2 separate regions of the Homo sapiens genome follow, and region 2 is linked to region 1. Evidence: promoter capture Hi-C in human tissues and cell types (Jung and others, 2019). All regions are on one chromosome and are shown on one strand. Each heading gives the region's core, a stretch centred on a gene start or on the middle of the fragment in contact. The rest is flanking DNA. Distances are from core to core; before and after follow the strand shown. Region 1 holds the start of ALAS1 (5'-aminolevulinate synthase 1). Region 2 holds the start of IQCF1 (IQ motif containing F1).

Evidence for each region. The method cuts DNA at HindIII sites, captures the fragments that hold promoters and counts their contacts. A contact is called where the count stands out against the background at its distance.
Region 2: a contact is called between the fragment with the promoter of IQCF1 here and the fragment with the promoter of ALAS1 in region 1, in 1 of the 25 tissues and cell types used here (adrenal gland).

The regions. Positions count from the first base shown.
Region 1 is chr3:52,196,400-52,199,445 of GRCh38, reverse strand. It overlaps ALAS1 (5'-aminolevulinate synthase 1), which reads right to left and starts at 1,286. Exons shown (of 12, transcript NM_000688.6): 1 at 1,191-1,286; 2 at 598-774; 3 at 6-236. The coding sequence starts at 204. RefSeq lists silencers at 1,045-1,124, 1,235-1,304 and enhancers at 1,445-1,664, 1,675-1,744. The HindIII fragment of the contact is 15,330 bases long and covers 1-3,046 here.
Region 2 is chr3:51,902,025-51,905,027 of GRCh38, reverse strand. IQCF1 (IQ motif containing F1) reads left to right here and starts at 1,675. Exons shown (of 4, transcript NM_152397.3): 1 at 1,675-1,758; 2 at 1,939-2,043. The coding sequence starts at 1,756. RefSeq lists an enhancer at 1,918-3,003. The HindIII fragment of the contact is 7,615 bases long and covers 1-3,003 here.

The DNA.
Region 1 (3,046 bases), core at 37-2,536:
CTTACTCTCACTGGCCGGAGGGGTTTCTTTGATCTGTTGGTAGTGTACTGCTGCAGTGGACAATGCCCGAGGGGCTGGCTTGGCCCCAACTTCCATCATCTTGGGGCAGTTTTGGGCATAGAACAACAGAGATTTGCCTGCTTTCTGCAGAAAGGCCTGGGGGACTCGGGATAAGAATGGGCAGCGGCGAACAACACTCTCCATGTTCAGGAAGTATGCTGGCTCCTGTGGAAAGACTGATGAAGAGTGACATCAACAGTTGTTAATAATCAGGCAAATATCACTGCAAGCTCACTGGATTCAGGTGTCAACCGCAGTTTATATAAAGGGTACCCTGGAATACTAACACTTCTCCCTCAAAAATGCCTAAGGACAGCACTGATGTGAGCTAAGGAATGGTGACCACACTTTACCCGGGTCACCAACTTCTTCATTCTCCAGCGCTACACAAAGGCACCTGCAAAGCAACTTCACCAAATGAATACTGACAGTACATAATCAAGGGGGCGGAAGGATGAGGGAAAGGTCAAGAACAGGTTTGGGAGGCCAGAGGTTTCTTAGGGAGATGCACAGTGCAGATAAGACATCTTGGCTTACATCTAGGTGGAGAAGAAGCCACTCATCCATCCAGGCAGGGAAGACTCTTAGGGATCCTGACTTTCTCCTGGTCCCCACATCCCCTAAACCCGAGGAAGGGGTCCAGCAGGGTCCCGAGTCCCTGAAGCAAGGATTCCTCCGTGGTCGTGTCCCCACAGCGGGAAGAACTGGGCATAACTGAGAAAGGAGGGGCACAAATGAGGGTAGGGGTATGAGGGCCAGCGCCTTGGGCCTCACTGGGGACGCGCAGGGGCTTATAAAGTCGAGGGAGTTGAGTCTGGAGAAAGAAGGCAGTCCTCCGGCAGTGGGGGTCAGAGGTGACCCGCGGTCGAGGTCTCGAGAATGACGGGAGGGGTATGAGAAGGGAATTCTAAAGCGGCGGGTTCAACCGGGAATAGCCGGAAGGGGCCGAAAGGGGGAAACTGAGGCGGCCGTCTAGGCAAAAGATCTGGAGGATAAACGCTGACCTCAAGGCGGCGGGTGACTGGGACAGTGGGGGATGGGGTCCCAGCACCCGGGGCAGCGGTGCCACGGCTGGCAGGACACCCCGGGGCTTCCTCGGCCGGCGCCGCACCTACCGCGCGGGCCCTCACCTGCGCTGAGGACTGCAGAGGCGGCGGCGAAGGAGGCGGGCACTCAAGTCGAGAAGTCCAAACGAAACGCTCGTTGCCCTTGTCCGGGAGCAGCCTCAGGCCGCGATCGCCGGCGCCTTAATATACAGCGGGAGTGACCGCTGCGCATGCGCCTTGGGCGCTGCCTTCTTCTGCGCAGGCGCGCCGCGTAGCCCTCGGCGAGCCGGGGGGGCGGGGCAGAGAGGCCCACTTCTTGGGCTCTGCGGATATCGGTGCTGCCGGGGATTCCCCGGCTCGCCTGCAGGGAGGAGGAAGCGCTAGGCGGTGGGCGGACGAGGTCTCTTTTCCCGACCTCATCCTGCACCCTCGTGCTGCCTCCCCACCAACTACCCTGGGCTTCAGAACCCTACGCCCCAATTGAGTATAAAATGGCAAGGTCGAGGCGAGGTGCCGCTAGGGCCAAGTTGGGGGCTACAGGGTTGTTAAGCTGGGTGTCTTGGACATGGAGGAAGAAGGAGATCCAAGGGGTTCTGGGCCGGGGTGTTAAGCAGGATCCATCCCGCCTGCGGCTTGCTTTGGAAACTGTGAACAAGGGCTTCCCGGAGGAGGTGGAGCTGGCTATATCGCCCACAAATGGAGTGGTCCTGGCAGGATGCGGAAGAAGCGGGACACTCAGCTGTGGCACTTTCTGGTCTAAGATGATCCAGAGGGGACAGAGGAACAGGGCTAGGGTGGAACCCATCCACTCCACAGCTCTGAGCACTTGGGGAGGAGGGGAAGGCACAGGGCCTGACAATAGTTAGCGTGTAACAAATATTAGCCACTATTTTTATTTTCCATCCAGGGTTGTCTGAAGCCCCTTGCTGGCCACCCTGGGCACCAGCAGGGTGGCTTAGGCCTCCATGCCAAAGGTCAGCGTTGGGCCATACCTCCATTGAGTTTCCCGGGTACAACACATAAAGTGTAGGGCTTGGCAAACCCGTCTCAGGAATGTCAGTCTGGCTTCCTTGCCCCACACCCTTCCCAGCTTGGCTTGGGCTGTGTTGGGCTGGGCCTGTGCCAGGCTCAGAGGTACTCTCCTCCATTCTTGAGGAAAGGGCCTTTGAGGGTATTCCTTTCCCAGCTGAGCATTAACAAGAGGGACAAAGTCCAGAATGATGGTGACCAGGGTGTGTCCAGGTACTTTGCATTTCTGTCTCTGAGCACCCAGCTGGCTGCAAGGCAGGTGAGGTGAGTCTCCACCTTCAGAGGAGGCACCTGGGTTCAGAGTGGCAGTGGGACCAGTCCAGGATGAGGGCTTTGGTCTGAGAGCTCGAGACCCAGTTCTGTGCCATTCAGCCAAGAGATCCTGGGCAGTGCCCATCACCCAGAGAAGATGAGAGAGAAAAGGTCAGCACTTGGACTTGGACCCAAGTGCAGCTGGAAGTGGGAACAGAATAAGGATGATATTGAGTGCTTTGCTCATCTTTGGGCCTTGCTTTCCTTATCTGGGCAATAGGATCATAATCCCTGAAATGCCTGCCTCACAGGTTGTTTTTGTTGTTGTTGTTATTTTGTTTGTTTGTTTGAGACAGAGTCTCCCTCTGTTGCCCAGGCCGGAGTGCAGTGGCACAATCTCGGCTCACTGCAACCTCTGCCTCCCAGGTTCAAGCGATTCTTCTGCCTCAGCCTCCTGAGCAGCTGGGATTACACCACCACGCCCAGCTAATTTTTGTATTTTTAGTAGAGATGGGGTTTCACCATGATGGCCAGGCTGGTCTTGAACTCCTGACCTCAAGTGATCACCCTCAGCTTCCCAAAGTTCTGGGATTATAGGCTTGAGCCACTGCGCCTGGCCCTCATAGGGTTTTTTTGGGGGTGATCAGAGCCAAAGCCAA
Region 2 (3,003 bases), core at 426-2,925, 290 kb after region 1:
TGCCATTCTGCTGCCTCAGCCTCCCCAGTAACTGGGACTACAGGTGTCAACCACCACACTTGGCTAATTTTTTGTATTTTTAGTAGAGACGGGGTTTCACCGTGTTAGCCAGGATGGTCTTGATCTCCTGACCTCATGATCCTCCCGCCTCAGCCTCCCAAAGTTCTAGGATTACAGGCATGAGCCACTGCACCCAGCCCAAACTCCCATTTTTAAAACCATCAAATCTCTTGAGATTCATTCACTATCATGAGAACAGCACAGGAAAGACCTGCCCCCATAATTCAGTCACCTCCCACCAGGTTCCTTCCACAACACATGGGAATTGCGGGAGTTAAAATTCAAGATGAGATTTGGGTGGGGACACAGAGCCAAACTATATCACACCCACAACTTCCCACATCTTTCAATGTATTCCCATATTCTCCACCCCCTCATCCCATTAACTTCACATCCCAGCCTCAAATGGCCTCCTCCTCTTCCCTACATTCCCCCTACAGATCCACATTGGCCTCTCCCATACTCACCCTATACATTTCAAGTGCACTTCTCAGTGACCCCAGGGGCTGTGCCTCTCATGGCCTTACCCTGTCCAGCTGGGTCTTCAGAGGCCGAGATCAGGCAGAAAGGGGCCATGCTTGTGCAGTGGCCACCTTCATCCATCTGATTGTGGCCTTGAGACCCCAGGGACAGAGGAAGACAGGAGAGCACTTGGACCCATTTGAGCCTCAGATGGAGTCCAGGCTGGTCCTCAGGCCCTCATGGGGTTCCTTGGGGACTGTGTTAGGCATGAGTCAGCAATTTAACTCTCCTCTCCAAAGGTAATCATTGGTAATAGTTTGGTATATATACCTTTTTTCTTCTTTATATTCATTTACAACATATAATGTGTATCATGTAATAACTTCTGGCATAAATTATTCAATTTTATGTGTATAATTATGTTCCTAGTTTTGTTTGCATAGTGGGATCAAAAGGAACTTTAGTTTTTTACTTATAAATACATCTTTATATATTTCCTCATTAGTAATATAGATCAAATTCTTATTTTTAATAGTTATGTAGTATTTTATAGTATGAATGAACTATGCATCATTAAATTAATCCCCTATTGATTATTTAAGTTGGCTATATAAGTTTTTTCTTTTCTTTTTTTTTTTTTTTTGAGATGGAGTCTTGCTCTCTTGCCCAGCCTGGAGTGCAGTGGCATGATCCTGGCTCACTGCAAACTCCACCTCCTGGGTGCAAGCGATTCTCCTGTCTCAGCCTCCTGAGTAGCTGGGATTACAGGTGACAGCCACCACACCCAGCTAATTTTTGTAATTTTAGTAGGGACAAGGTTTTGCCATGTTGGCCAGGCTGGTCTCGAACTCCTGACCTCAGTTGATCTGCCTGCCTCGGCCTCCCAAAGTGCTGGGATTACAGGCCTGAGCCACTGCGCCTGGCCAAGTTTTTTCAATTAAATGTTATTAGAAATGACTGGCTTTTTATAAACCTTACAGCAATGGGCCAGTATTTCTGGCATCTTGCCTTTGAAGTCAGGGCTTTGGCCATTTCTGGCAGAAAAGAATGGGCAGCGCTTTTGTCTTTCCCTTGGAGGGGGCTCACTTGTTAGGAGCCATCTGGTGCCTGAGTCACAGGTGCCCTTATGACATCACAGGCCTTTCTTCCTCCACCCTTCCTGCCTATGCTATGGCTGGATGAACACAGATGTGAGGGGATTTGAACCATCTACAATCAATCCATATGTGACCAATGGTAAGAGAAAGCCAGACACACCAGGCTTGTTAGGGATGTCCCCATAGATCTCTCAGGGTGAAGGGACCCCCTGACACTGAAGACTCTAAGAAGCCCTGGAAGCTGGGGATGTGTGCCATATTGAATGGAGAGGGAGGGACCGCAGCCTCACTCTTGCCTTTCCCCTAATGCTGATTGCAGGAGGAGAAGCAGCCCCAAAAGACGAAGGAACCCTCAAAAGAAGATGAGCCTCAGCAGAAGGAGATGCCAACCCATTTGTCCTTAGGAGCAGAGTCAAAGGCAGAGGTAGGAGGAGCCCTGACTTGGATGTCATTGATCCCATGTCCTAGTGCTAGTAGCTAGTGTCTTTTGCATGGTGCTGTTATAAGTGAAGTTTCTGTGCCGCAAAAGAAATAGCACTCAAATATAAAATTTTCTTTTTAATTCTCAGCAAGGCAAGGTACTTCTATAGAAGGGTGCGCCCTTACAGATGGAGCAATGGTGAGTGCACACTTGGACAAGGGAGGGGAAGGGGTTCTTATCCCTGATGCACGTGGCCCCTGCTGCTGTGTCATTCCCCTATTGGCTAGGGTTAGACCACACAGGCTAAACTAATTCTGATTGGCTAATTTAAAGAGAGTGATGGGGTGAGTGGTTTGGTGGGAAAAATGGTTACCGCGGAGCAGGAAATCGGAATGAGTCAGGGTGGAGACTGAGCAGGTAATTGGAATGAGTCAGGGTGGAGCCGGTAATCGGAATGAGTCAGGGGGGAGTAGGTAATCAGAATGAGTCAGGGCGGAGCAGGTAATTGAAAAAGGTTGCTTTACAAGGAAGTTAAGTTTAAAAGTAGAAGGCAAAGAATTGAACATATTGACATACTGATTCTTTGAAGAGAAATTTAGAACTCATACCTAACAACTTCTCCTCTTGCATTTCCTTACAGCTCTTTCTCTTTAAACTTCTTTAACATGTCTTGGCTTAGATGTTCTGCTTGATTTTCCAAAAGAAGAAGCTTCTCTGGATAAGGTGGAGAATAGTTAAGGGAGGTTTTAGTAAGTGCTGTTTTTATGAGCCTCTTTGCACCAACCCACGGACGCATGGTGTGACACAGCACCCAACAAGAATAAATACACCCATTGCGGCTGCCAGGGAAGTGAGAATTGAGGCTATAATTCTTTTCCATTTACTGAACCACTTTTCTAGCCATCCTGTAAAGGGCTCATTTAACCCTGAGTTGTTGGCTAACTCATTGGACAGGGCAGTCAG